Regions from separate parts of the Homo sapiens genome. Here all the other regions are linked to region 1. The links are contacts of gene promoters, found by promoter capture Hi-C in blood cells and fetal thymus (Javierre and others, 2016). All regions are on one chromosome and are shown on one strand. Each heading gives the region's core, a stretch centred on a gene start or on the middle of the fragment in contact. The rest is flanking DNA. Distances are from core to core; before and after follow the strand shown.

Region 1 (2,700 bases), core at 8-2,507:
TTGCACTCCAAACAAGCAGGTCTGTGTACCACCATCTAACACCCCAACAGGGCCAGGCTAGGGTGAGGTGAGTCACAGCACTTAAAGGTTCACCAAAGAATTCAGTAATCAAGGTTAATATTTTAATGGAATATTTAAAAAAATCAAAATTAATATCAAAAATGCATGATGAAAAATAACAAAATTTTAAATAAAGACAGGGTAAGTTTAGGGGTTTTTCCTATTGCTTCAGGCTCAAAAGTGCCTTCCGGGGCACTGTTATCGGCCCTGCAGTGACTCCCCACACAGATACTTTTACTAATGATGTTTCCCAAAAGTTAGTTCTTACAACCGCTTTCTACATTAGTAACGTCTTTCTTCTTGAACGCTCCAGCATTTAAGTGTAGCGCTCTACTGTCAGGAAAACCCATTTCCCCTAGTAACTAGTAGTACTTCGAAGATATTCTGAATCATCTTGGATCCTTTCCAGCACTTTCCCAAACCACAGTGAGCACTCAGCACCACTTCGCTAAAAGAGTGCAGAATCACAATGCTCAAATCACTGTCTGGGGGGTTCAGCAGGGAGGGGACGCAGATATGTTTTGTTTAGTCCAGGGTGTTTTGAGAAAATTGAATTTGTTATCAAGATTTTACAAATCAGGATATTGTACATGAATATACTCCGTCATTTCTGGAAAAATCAGAAAATCTAGCAACACTAGGTCTAATTCTTGCCCGATAGCAAGGGACCCTGAGAGCAGATAAGCGGCCCTGCCTTCGGAGCTCTCTCCAGTTCGCCTTCCCCCAGTTACAGTGCCTGTCAGGCCCCATTAGATCTTTGAGTTTGCTATCGTAAGAATAAAGGAAGGAGCGCACAGGATAAAAACCCATCGGCTGGGTCTATTCGTTTTTTCCTAGAGAAAAAAAAAAATGTTTCCTGGTTGTCCTTTCGAATATAGTCTCACAGAGAAGCTCACAGAAGCAGCCCACCTTTCTAGCCCACAAACTTCCCACAAGCCGTGAAAGTCGCACCGGCTCTTGCACCCAGATCGGTTTCTCCCGGGTCTTTGGCTCAGGGCCCCCGCCCCTACATTGGCCTTTCCCTTCCTCTGCCACCTCCGCGCTCCGAGGCCTGGGGCGGGTCGCGGGTCCCGGCCCCCAGCCCCCAGCCCCTAGCCGCTGCTCTTTGCCCCGGGCCAGGGCGCTCGGGCTCGCCCACGGCGGCACTGAGCATGCTCAGAGGCGGCCGCGCGGGCAGGTTTGCTTCGCAGGCGCTCGCACTCGGCGGCGGGCGGGCGCGCGGCTGCAGCTGGAGCTCCAGCGCCCGGAGTTGGAGTTGCCGGGAGTTTCCCCCCAACCCCTCCCTTTTCGCGCGCGGCAGCAGGAGCCGGCGCGGGAGCCGCGAGCGGCGGCGAGCCAGCACCCGGGCCGGCTAAGCCTTGTCCGGAGCCCGGAGCCCCGCGCGGGGCAGCCCCCCGGGGAGGAGCCTCGTGCTCTGGGACGCGTGCCGCGCACTGGCACGGCAGGGGCGCGAGCCAGGCTGCACGGTAGGACCGGGGCGAGGGGAGCCAGGCGGTCAGGGCGGAGGCCAAGCCCGGGAGATGCGGTTGCAGCCGCCACGGCTGTTGGGGCGCCTGGCGCTCCGTCCGAGGCGGGTGGCTGTGAGGCCAGGGGAGTAGGCAGGCTCCCAGAGAGATTCTTCCAAGTTGGCGGGTGGCGGGAGAGGGGGCCGCGCGCCCCGGCGCAGCTGCTTTGTGCGCGCAGAGAGGGACTCGTGTCCCTGGTTCTCTCCAACCCTGGGACCCGTTGTGCGGGCAGTATTGGGCAAGCCGCAGAACGGAGCGATTTCCTCCGAGAAAGTTGAGGATGGAGCCTTTTTTTCCGCACCGTCCCCGCGATGGCATGGGCCCCGAGAATGCTGCCCCGAGGCTCCCAGTGTGGGGGAGCTCGGGGTCGCTGCGCCTCTAGCTTGAGCGCAGAAATCCGCGAATCACTCCGATCTTCGCGAACTCTGGCATCTTCTAGGAAAATCATTACTGCCAAAACTGAGGCGAGCTTTTCTGGCGGGCACGGCACCCTGCCCCCAGGGCGCTGGCCCTGGGCGATGCCCCCTTTCCGATCTCAGGCTTGGTCAAGGGCGCCAGGTTCCGAATTCGCGCTTGCCGTGCACGCCGGCATCGAGCCTCACCAACACCGCCGGGCAACGTGGCTGGAGTAGGTGGGTGGCTTGATTTTCCCTCCAACCTTTCCTCAGGTTTACAACACCCCGCCACCTCACCACCCCACCCCGTTCATCTTCACAGAGGACAGGACCTGCAGGTGGAGAATTTGGAAAGACATCTTGTTCTTTAGGAGAAAGTCCCCGGGGTGTATCTGCCCTTGGTTCTGGCCCCAGGATTTCATAACGAACCTTCTCCCCTTCCTATTACGCTTCCCTAGGGACTGGGTGGGAGAGAATAGGATCGGTAGGTCCGCAGGAACTTCCATCTCATTCCACCCTCTCCTAAGATTGCCTTCCGGGCGACCCCAGGACCCTGGAACTGGCATTGTGCGGATTGTAAGGCTGTGGAGGATGCCGACGAATTTTTCCTGGCTCCACTTTTTTCACTTCTTGTTTTGAGTTTTGGGGTTTTGCCTGCACACTAGTCAGAGCTGCGCCCTAGTCAGAGCCACCCTGGGGGTGGAGGAGCTTCAGCCGAGGCTGTGAGCTGCTGTTCGTCT
Region 2 (2,700 bases), core at 12-2,511, 100 kb before region 1:
CAGACCACAAAAATGTCATCCAGCTCTAAGTTTGATCCCAATTCTACGCAGACTAGAAAGGGCATGCTGGGACAATGACAAAACATTAATTTTGGGGGCAAACAAGCTTTGTTTCCAATAAATAACATAGAATGAATTCCTGGAACATAAGTGTGTTATGTTCACCATAAATGTGTTACATAAGTGCAGCCTGATCACATAATACTAAAAAATCAGTAAAAATACCGATTTGAAATTATTTTTATAGAAACATGATTTTACCTGAACTTCCCTATTATTTTTTCTATGGACTCAAAATTCTTCTCTTATTTTTATTTTATTTATTTTCAAGGAGAAATTCATTGTCCGATATTCACTTTTCAGAAAATTCAGTCAAAATTTGCTTACAAGCCGTGCAGATGTTTCTTATAACCACTAGGGGTCAGACTACTACGTTAGTAGAAGTCAAACCCAACTTGAAACGTGGTATTAATTGGTTGAGGATCAGGCTGACATTCTCCTGCATAAGAACAGAAGACTGACCATTTAAATTAAACATTTTATAAAGGAGATAATGAGAAAGAATGCATTTGACAAGAGAGACTCAGAAAGTTGAAACTATCATATATATAATAAATATAACATAGTAAAGAAATTTCATCCTTAATAAAAATTTCAATTATTCACTTGCTCATTCTCATTGGCAAGATATTACTCCAGTCTAAGTGGGCTCAGATCAGAGGATTAATCATTGAACTGGGCAAATGTTAAGAGAGCAGAAACAACTAAAATCATGAAACTGTCAACAAAAAAGAAGAAATCCTCATTTATAAAGGATAAACCACATGACTAGCAGAGGATTGAGATGAATGGCAGAAACATTTTTCCAATGGATTTCAGCCATGGTAACAATAAATCTGAGTCATCTCACAGCAATGGGTGTATTCAGGAGTGTGGGCAGAGGGCAGCTCTGGACTGGGCCTCTGTTCCACTCCCAGCTCTGCCACAAATTGACCCTGTGGTCCTGAACACACTCCTTCTCTTCTCCTGATCTCAAAATGTCTTGAGTAAGATTACATGATTTATAAAGAATCTTCAGGCCTTAAAATTAAACAGATTTATCTAACAATATTGTTACATAAAAGGTAAGAAAGTGAGGGGAAAACTTGCCAAGATTTAAGTTTTAACAAAAATTTTACAAATGAGGGTATTCACTCTCAAGATACATTATTACAAATTGTGTTTTTTAAAAATGGAACAAACTGAGATCATAGACCATATTTACTGTCAGACAAAGTAATAAAAAGTCAAAATTTATTTACATTTTTAATGATAGTGTTTTGAAGTAAATACTCTAAGTGTATATGTAAACATATATGCGGGTTATTCCCTGGAATGATAAACAAATTAAAAAGTGGTTACCTGTTGGGGGCGGGGTAGAATTAAATGGATATGGATAGTGTGGCTATAAGAATATAAGGTTTGCTTCTTCATATATTGTTTTGATGTTTTTGTGATTGTATTATATGATGTATTACATTTTTTAAATTTTGAATATATCCATTGCCTATTCAAATTTTTTAAAAATTAATTTTAAACTTTATACATAGGACAAAAATGTGGGCCAATACAAAAATAAACACAACTGAATATGAAAATCCTCCATGATTTGAATGGGGGTTAGAAATGACACAGGGATATTCGTTACTAATATAAGTTGGCAATACAACAGTGATACTGTGTTTTAAATGGCCTGCATCAAAATACCTCAACCAAATTGGTCACATCTTAATGGTTGTATCTAAAGATTTTATTTGGTAGATTTTTCACCTGTGCCCCAAACCCTCACTGAGCTGCTTATACCTCATATGACACCAAATCAGGAGAAGGAAGAAGTTCCTCCCTCCCCCTTTTTTCTTTACATACACACATGCATGCACACACAGGCACACACTGGCTTGTGTGTCAATGAATATTAATATATGCAAATAAACAATGGAGATGGTTACAGGGAAATTGATTCTGCAAATTGCTAACCTAACTCACAGCCTTCTCAATATACAGGTCAAATGTAATTTCTATCAAAATTCCAGCAAGAGAATTTGTAGATGTAGACAAGATTATGGTAAAATGTATATGGAAAGGCAAAGGAACTAGAATAGCTACAACCATTTTGATAAAGAATAAAGCAAGAAGAATTACTCTACTTGATTTCAAATTATATAGCTACAGTAATCAAGGCTACATGGTGATAAAATAGACACATACATTGATGGAGCAGAATGGAGAACCCAAAATAGACCCATACAAATATGTGCAGTTACTTTTTCACAAAGGTGCAAAAACAATTCAATGGAGGAACGATAACTTTTCAACAATGGTGCTGAAACAATTGGACATCCGTAAGCCAAAAAGATGAACGTGGCCCTAAGCTTCAACATCAAATTAAAATTAACTCAAAAAGTATTAGCCTGAGCAACATGGTGAAACCTCATCTCTAAAGAAAAGTACAAAAGATTAGCCAGGCATTATGGCATGTGCCTGTGGTACCAGCTACTCAGGAGGCTGAGGTGGGAGGATGGCTTGAGTGTAGGAAGTCAAGGCTGCACCCCAGCCTGGATGACAGGGCAAGGCCCTGTCCCCCCCACCCAAAAAAAAAGGATTAAAGATTTAAGTGAAATTTTAAAACTATAAAACTTTTAGAAAAAAGTAATAAGAGAA
Region 3 (2,700 bases), core at 89-2,588, 110 kb after region 1:
AGAGCAACATCATATATAAGTCTAATTCTAAAAGAACTCTTAGTAAATGTAAAAGCATGTGTTTAAAAAGTGTGTCGTGGTTTAATTGGTAGTCTCTTTACTTTTTTTTAAATTATATTTTAAATTCTGGGGTACGTGTGCAGAACGTGCAGGTTTGTTACATGGGTATACATGTGCCATGGTGGTTTGCTGCACGCATCAACTTGTCACCTACATTAGGTATTTCTCCTAGTGCTATGCCTCCCTCCACCCTCACCCGCCGACAGGCCCTGGTGTGTGATGTTCCCCTCCCTGTGTCCATGTGTTCTCATTGTTCAACTCCCACTTATGAGTGAGAACATGTAGTGTTTGATTGTCTGTTCTTGTGTTAGTTTGCTGAGAATGAAGGTTTCCAGCTTCATCCATGTGCCTGTAAAGGACATGAACTCATTCTTTTTTATGGCTGCATAGTATTCCATGGTGCATATGTGCCACATTTTCTTTTTCCAGTCTATCATTGATGGATATTTGGGTTGGTTCCAAGTCTTTGCTATTGTGAATAGTGCTGAAATAAACATATGTGTGCATGTGTCTTTATCATAGAATGATTTCTAATCCTTTGGGTATATACTCAGTAATGGGATTGCTCTCACGCCAGTTAGAATGGTAATCATTAAAAAGTCAGGAAACAACAGATGTTGGAGAGGATGTAGAGAAATAGGAACACTTTTACACTGTTGGTGGGAGTGTAAATTAGTTCAACCATTGTGGAAGACGGTGTGGCAATTCCTCATGGGTCTCTTTACTTATTTACTGTTACACAAATAATAGTGCCTGTTACATAAATAATAGTACCTTTTGACAATCAGTGATGACTTGGATATGATTAAATCTAATCTATAAGATTCTTTACAAATCTAATCTGTAAGAATAGATTTATTTGCAAAGTGAAGAGATTTCTTTCTTCACATTCTTCCTATGTGTATATTTTCCATTTCTCCTCCTTTCTTCAAACTAGTGACCTCTTCTATCTGAAGGTGGCATTACTCAGCATCCAAAGAGCATGCCAACCTGGTTTTGGTGCATCCAATGACAGTAGGGTTTTTTGTTTTGTTTTGTTTTTTGTTTTGTTTTGTTTCTGGCCTGTGATCCATATGTGAGGAGGAGGGGGAGCAGGAAACAACAGTGTTGAAAAGCAAACAGCAAGTGTTCAAGTAGAGTCTGGGACTAATGGAGCAAAGCAAGCCAGTAGACTCTCAAATGGCTGTAAAGTTTAACTCTGATCTAACACAGGGCTCTAGTCAGTGGAACCACAGACACAAAAACCTGCTACAGACACAAAAAATAAGCCAAGTTCAAAGACATCTGGTTCTAGCCAACCTAAAGTTATACTGTTAAGTCAAGGAAGAGTCACATGTGCTTTGTGATTCTACACACATTCTCATATTTCTCTCGTTTGTTTTGGATTCTTGGGCTAGATCTCTCCTGTGAAAGGAGATATGAAAGAGAGTTGCCAAATTGTCTCTGTCTGGTCTGTGCATGGATGTTAAGTTGTTAGTATGTGTTCATCAGGAAAAGATTATTTCCAAGAGCAGTGCTACATCTGAGAAGAAAGACTTTCTAGGTGGAGTCATGTTGGCTTATCTTGGATTTCAATAAAAGAAGTCAAAGAAAAAGCAATCTAGTATAATTGTATTTTAGTGTCATATAATCTGAAATAACAAGTGTGTTCGAAAGTAGACATTTTATACTCTTTGCAGACACATTTCCTCTTAGATGTTTTTAGAAAATACTGTTATATTGTATGCAAAGCCCATATAACCCCATCTTATTAATATCAATCATCCTTTTGAAACTTCACCACACATATCTCCACAACATGGAGATGTTTTTCTTCCTTTTGAAATTTAGATTATTCTTACTTGTTTTGACTTAGTTTGGCTCTTTCTTACTTCTTGCTGAGCCTTTTCACATGAATCATATATATGGATTTATTTGGTCAGGGGACGGATGTTGCTTTTTATCTCTTTTTCTTTTGTTTGTTTTGACACTTCTCTTAACTTCACTCTCAACTTTATTTTCTAGCTTTTCCTTCATTGCCTCAAATTTGTTTCTTTCTATAATTTGGAGATTCCTATATTATAAATGTTGTCTAGCAAAACCTATTTGCACATAAGAGGCCCTGCAGGATTAACTGTGGCTTATTGTTATGAGAAGCTGAGTGTATCTAATGATCCCACATTTGCCCTTGCTGCTTTTTCATATTTACTAAAGGATTTTAATTCAGTGCTATAGTGCAATACTAATTTTTATAAAATACATTTCTAGATGGTGCACATTTCTCTGTGGGAAGATCAGTCTCTTTTAGAGGTTTTCTGTACCTTCGTTTCGTATTCCCCTCTTCCACCATCCCATTGCTCCAGGAGACCTAAGGAACTCTGTGAGATGCATTAATGTTATAAATGTAAAGTAAATCAAGTATTTTTTGAGATTTTTTTTAAAAAGAGTATTAATATCACTTAAGGTTCTTAAAATGTGTCTTTTGGTGTTCTCTATCAGAGGTCAGTTTGCCTCTGACCTCCTAACAACAAAATTCTTAGGAATTTTGTTTTAGAGAGTGACTTTATTGATTTTATAAACAAATTATTATACTTCTTATTTTTCCTCCTATGCCCCTTGGCTTTTATTAGTTGTATTATTTTTACTTTGTCAGGGACTCTA
Region 4 (2,700 bases), core at 149-2,648, 81 kb before region 1:
ACTTTTTGTTAACAAAAAGCTTTAACAAAAAAGTCTCACAGCCATCATTATGAACATCATAGTTTGGTTTGGTTTGGCCGTGGGATTTTTTTTAAGGTAAGCATACACGTGTCTTTTGTATTAGAAAAATTATAGATTGGAGACATGATTTGACAATCCTATTGCAGAACTAATATTTTGGGGAGATCCTTGATTTCTAACCCATCTCTGGCTGGGAAGCACATGCTCTTTGCAGTTCACCATGTGGCCTCCCCACCTCCCTGCCTCACTGCCTCTCTACCCAGGACTCTCTGACATATGCCATCACTTCTTCAGTCTTACTCACTTCTTTTTTACATACATATCTTTATGCTTCAGCTAAATTTAACTATGACCATTTCTCCAAAAACAAGCTATAGTTTCCCATCTCTGTGCCTTTGCTCATGTTGTTCCTATTTTCCTAAATTGCCCCTTATTTTATCCCTGCCTTTTGAAAGCTTAACAACCCTTTGAGGTCCACCCACACACTAAATCCTCCTCCAGGTTTTTTATAATCCCTCCCGCTGAATGTGATCTCTTCCTCCTTTGTACTTCCACAGCAAATTATGCATTATCTCTTTTAAGATAATTTCATTCCTACATTGCCAACATTTGAGATGTTGACTTCAGTGAACATAGAATTTTAATTTTTTTTCTACAGCATTGAGAATAGCATCTTATACTTAGTAAGCATTTAGTAAATACATACTGGATGGAATTTCATTGCCAAACGCATACTTGAACCTTTAGTAAAATTCTTCTGCTAATCTAAGCTTGGTCCCTTTTAGCGTACTCTAATCGCATGAGGATTAAATTCAAAAGAGAAAATATAAAATAGGAAAAAAAGGAGGATACTGAAGTTTTGTATAGGTTGCAAAAGTCCCAAATGGTTCTGAGAGCTAGGAATTTCTACTTATACGTTCAGTGACCTCACGGCATAGAAGAAAATCATCCATGTTTGCAGCTGAGAAAGATAAATGGGGAATTGGGGGATGTAAAAATGGGGGTGTCATTTCATAGAGCTGATCACTCTCTCTTCTCTTGGTTCCCATGATGACACTCTTGCTTTGCTTTCCTGACATCCAACTGATCCCAGTTCCCTCTCCTCAATCTCTTGATGCTGGAGTACCCCAGAACTTAGTTCCACCTCTTCTATTGTTCTCCATCTACCCCTTCTTCCTAAGAGGTTAACTTTGCCACATGAGCAACTTACAATCCACTAGAAAATGACTGATAAGGAGCACTGATCTTAACCATCATAATATATTTCCAGCTTCTGACATTGGCACAGAGACTTGCAGGCTGTGAGTGACAGGTGGCAGTGAGTGTATAAAATCAGAACTTTAGTTCACCTAGGTGTTTCTTTGGGCATGTGATGATTTGTAAGACTTGTGAATAAAATCAAGTGCATGTTTGAGAACCAGCCGTACCCAGTGATGTGTATCTCCTGCTTCAAAGAGCTTTTGCTGGTCTAGACCCAGGTAAAGATTTCTTTTACCTGGAAAGAAAAGGATAAGTAGAAATGATCCTGAACCAATGTTTTTCCTTCTGCTTTTCTTGATGGTAATCAGAGAACTCCACAGACATTAGACCTCATAAGGCAAGTCACTGTGTGTTTACACATGCCAAATGTTTTGTTCTTTGGAGCCTTTTTAAGAATGGAAGAAAATAAAAAATGCAAGAGCCTTTTATGATCATTTATTGTACCGCTGCTAATTTGAAGCCTGCCACTCATAACATGGGGAATGATGATTACTATACATATAGTACTATATACATAGAAATATATAGTAATATAGATATCATCATATACATTTATATATAGTATATATTATATACAATAATATATAGTATTTAATATATACGATAATATATCGTACATAATATATACGATAATATATCGTATATATTGTTTATACATAATATACTATATATTCCTATTTTCCTAAATTGCCCCTTATTTTATCCCTGCCTTTTGAAAGCTTAACCATCCTTTGAGATATATATTATATAATGTTATATATTATAGCATATTATATATTTTATTATATTATATAGCATACATAATATAGTATATATAAAACAATATATACTATATATAGACATGTCTATATATAGTATATATAGTAATATATGTTACTATGTCTATATATAGTATATATTGTTTTACATATAACATATATAGTAATATATATTACTAGATATTAAAATATATATAAAAATATTACTGTATATTTCTATATATAGTAATCTTATTATATATTACTATATATAGAATAAGATTACTATATATAGAATATATTCTATATATTTCATATATATAGAATATATTACTATATATTTCATATATATAGAATATATTACTATATATTTCTATATATATAGTAATCATCATTCCCCTTGTTATGAGTGGCAGGCTTCAAATTAGCAGTGGCACAATAAATAATCATAAAAAGTTCTTGCATTTTTTATTTTCCTTCCATTCTTAAAAAGGCTCCGAAGAACAAAACATTTGGGATGTGTAAGCACAGAGTGACTTGCCTTATGAGGTCTAATGTCTGTGGAGTTTTCTGACTTTATATATATGTGTGTGTGTGTGTATATATATATATGACTATATATATATGAATATATATATATGACTATATATATATAGTACTATATAGAGTAATCATCATTTAA
Region 5 (2,700 bases), core at 40-2,539, 98 kb after region 1:
TTCACGCTCTTGGTCTCTTCTATGCCCATTTTGAAGAAGATGCTGGCCTCTGCTATTAGTATCAGTAATTCTCAACTGGCCACCAGCTTAGAATTCTAATTATGTCCACCATTTAGCCTGAGATAGTTTTTTGTTTATTTATAAAAATCTTTGTTGAGATCTTACTGTGGACAAAAATTAAGATAATCAACTGTTTTCATGGGATTTAGAGAGAGAGAAATTAATCAGCTATGAAATACTGAGTTGATTTCTATGAAAGAAAACATAGAACAAAAGAACTTGGTGTTTTCAGTAGAAAGCGAGTGACAAACTGGGATATGAGGGTTGAAAAAGAGTTTCCTGGGGACATGCGGAAAGCGTGGGAGCAGCAGGAAAGGGTAGCCACTGTCAGAGGAAGCACTGCTCCCTGTGGCAGAAGGAAGCGTGACAACTTGGAGGAACACAAAGAAGGCCAGTGTGACTGCAGCTCAGCAAACAGAGAGTGATGTTGAGGGAGGCTGATAATGGCTCTCAAAGATAGGTTTACATCCTCATCCTGGCAACCTGTGAAGTTCACCATATTTGGAAAAAGGGTCTTTGTGGATGTAACTAAGGATTTTCAGCTGAGGTTACCCTGGATCGTCATCCTGCTGCGCCTACATGCCATCACATGTGTCTTTATACAAGTGACACAAAGGGAGATGAGACACACAGGGAAGAAAGCGATGTGAATATGGAGGCAGAGATTGGGGTGATGTCGCCATGAGTCAAGGAGTGTTGGCAGCTATCAGAAGTGGGAAGGGGCAAGGAACTGATTCTCTCCTAGTGCCTCCAGATGGAGTGTGGCCTTCTGGCCTCCTTTAGACAAAAAGGAATGCTGTAGAAAGTATAGAAGACATCATTCTCACCCTCATGCTCCCCATCAGAAACACAATAGAAATGTGAGCAGGAACATGTCTTTGTATTGAGCATTTGCATATGCTCATGAATATATGAAGAAATAAAGTATGGTTGGGGATATCTTACTCTCAAAAGCTTCCTGGTATGGTTTCCTCCTCTGAGTTGGAATGCCCTCTGGTCACATCTTTTGTTTTTACTTATTTGATGAAATTTATGGACAGCATTAAATAAATCAAGAGGGAAAACAACGTACCTTTTTTCCCTAATGCTGAGTGAGATAAGGTGTTTTTCTGATTCCTACTGTGCTACCTACTGTGCTATTTTTTCCTTGTATAACAATACTTTAAATTCTTTCAACACGGAGTTTTGTTGTAATGACAAAGAGAGTTTTAACTGTGGAGTTGGGGTCAAATTTGTATGATTAAGAGTATTAAATGCTGATTGCAGAGAATGAATGGCTATAATTCTGCCCCTTCAAAAATTTAGTTTTATCTAGAAAAACTCAGAAAGGTACAAAATGACATTTTAGATTAATACTCCTCAGTTTTACATTTGGGCAAAATTTAGCAATGACCTTTGTGGAGGTTTAGAACAAAATCTATGCTATTGATAGGTGAATATTTGATAACTGTATTCATGCCGACAGATTAACTACGTGCATTTAAGTAAGTTTGAAATAAGCTTATTTGTCTTTTTTTTTTTTTTAAGGGATAAAGAATGGCTACCCCCTAAGCAGAGCAGCCTGAAATAAGCTTATTTGTCTTAATGGAATTTTCTAAGTAATTATTATTTTTAAATATTTTTATTAAAAATTACAAATATGTAACAGTAAAGAGAATAATATCATGAATCCCCATGTAACTAGCTCTATTGGACAGTCATATTGTATTTATTTCCCATCCACTGCCTCTCACTGGATTATTTTTATGTAAATTATATCATTTCATTCTTTAATATTTTTATATGTGTATATTATATATATAAGTATTTTAAATATGTGCTAAAAACACAATCAAAATACCAGTATCACAACAATAAATCCCTTAATATCAAATATTACTTGGGTTTTAGCTTTCCCAATTGCCTGATGTGTATTTATATTTCATAGATGTAAATTCAAAGAAAGTATAAAAATTGTTTTTCAAATATATTTTATTTAAAAGGATGAAACACATTTTATACACCAGAAGGATTAAAATAGTGAAAATACAGCAAAGAACTTACTGTCTGTTTGAACAGTTTGGCTATTGTACAAAAAGAAATATAAATATATAATTATGTAACTTGACATTTTTCCATCACATAAGAAATTTTTTAAATGAAGAATGACCAAAAATTATACAGTAAAGCCATGTAATATAATAGAGTTGCTTGGCATTCAGGGCTATGTAAGAGAATATATTTTTCAAGTAAACATGCACTTTAGAAGTTGTGTATCAACCCCATCAAAAAGTGGGCAAAGGACATGAACAGACATTTCTCAAAAGAAGACATTTATGCTGCCAACAAACATGAAAAAAAGCTCATCATCACTGGTCATTAGAGAAATGCAAATCAAAACCACAATGAGATGCCATCTCTTGCCAGTTAGAATGACGCTCATTAAAAAGTCCGGAGAGGATGTGGAGAAATAGGAACGCTTTTACACTGTTGGTGGGAGTGTTAATTAGTCCAACCATTGTGGAAGACAGTGTGGCAATTCCTTAAGGATCTAGAACTAGAAATACCATTTGACCCAGCAATCCCATTACTGGGTATATACCCAAACGGTTATAAATAATTCTACTATAAAGACACATGCACACGTATGTTTATTGCAGC

Evidence for each region. Contacts are between HindIII fragments. The CHiCAGO score rates a contact against its expected background, and 5 or more counts as called.
Region 2: a contact is called between a fragment that was not itself captured here and the fragment with the promoter of STXBP6 in region 1, in 2 of 17 cell types (M2 macrophages and monocytes). The highest score is 5.8, in M2 macrophages.
Region 3: a contact is called between a fragment that was not itself captured here and the fragment with the promoter of STXBP6 in region 1, in 2 of 17 cell types (M1 macrophages and M2 macrophages). The highest score is 5.9, in M1 macrophages.
Region 4: a contact is called between a fragment that was not itself captured here and the fragment with the promoter of STXBP6 in region 1, in 3 of 17 cell types (M2 macrophages, monocytes and M0 macrophages). The highest score is 6.6, in M2 macrophages.
Region 5: a fragment that was not itself captured here is called in contact with the fragment with the promoter of STXBP6 in region 1 in 1 of 17 cell types (erythroblasts); the score reaches 5.7 in erythroblasts.

Annotation. Positions count from the first base shown.
Region 1 is chr14:25,048,704-25,051,403 of GRCh38, reverse strand. STXBP6 (syntaxin binding protein 6) reads left to right here and starts at 1,257. Exons shown (of 6, transcript NM_001394410.1): 1 at 1,257-1,526. LOC124903295 (a long non-coding RNA gene) reads right to left here and starts at 1,060. Exons shown (of 2, transcript XR_007064091.1): 1 at 970-1,060. The HindIII fragment of the contact is 7,485 bases long and covers 1-2,700 here.
Region 2 is chr14:25,148,837-25,151,536 of GRCh38, reverse strand. All of the region lies in intron 2 of LINC02286 (long intergenic non-protein coding RNA 2286), which reads left to right. Among named protein-coding and RNA genes, the nearest start is that of LINC02286, 6.1 kb to the left of the region's middle. The HindIII fragment of the contact is 2,305 bases long and covers 109-2,413 here.
Region 3 is chr14:24,934,699-24,937,398 of GRCh38, reverse strand. All of the region lies in intron 2 of STXBP6 (syntaxin binding protein 6), which reads left to right. Among named protein-coding and RNA genes, the nearest start is that of STXBP6, 110 kb to the left of the region's middle. The HindIII fragment of the contact is 3,446 bases long and covers 1-2,700 here.
Region 4 is chr14:25,129,830-25,132,529 of GRCh38, reverse strand. The region is part of intron 3 of LINC02286 (long intergenic non-protein coding RNA 2286); the gene reads left to right. Among named protein-coding and RNA genes, the nearest start is that of LINC02286, 25 kb to the left of the region's middle. The HindIII fragment of the contact is 1,209 bases long and covers 794-2,002 here.
Region 5 is chr14:24,951,186-24,953,885 of GRCh38, reverse strand. All of the region lies in intron 2 of STXBP6 (syntaxin binding protein 6), which reads left to right. Among named protein-coding and RNA genes, the nearest start is that of STXBP6, 98 kb to the left of the region's middle. The HindIII fragment of the contact is 546 bases long and covers 1,017-1,562 here.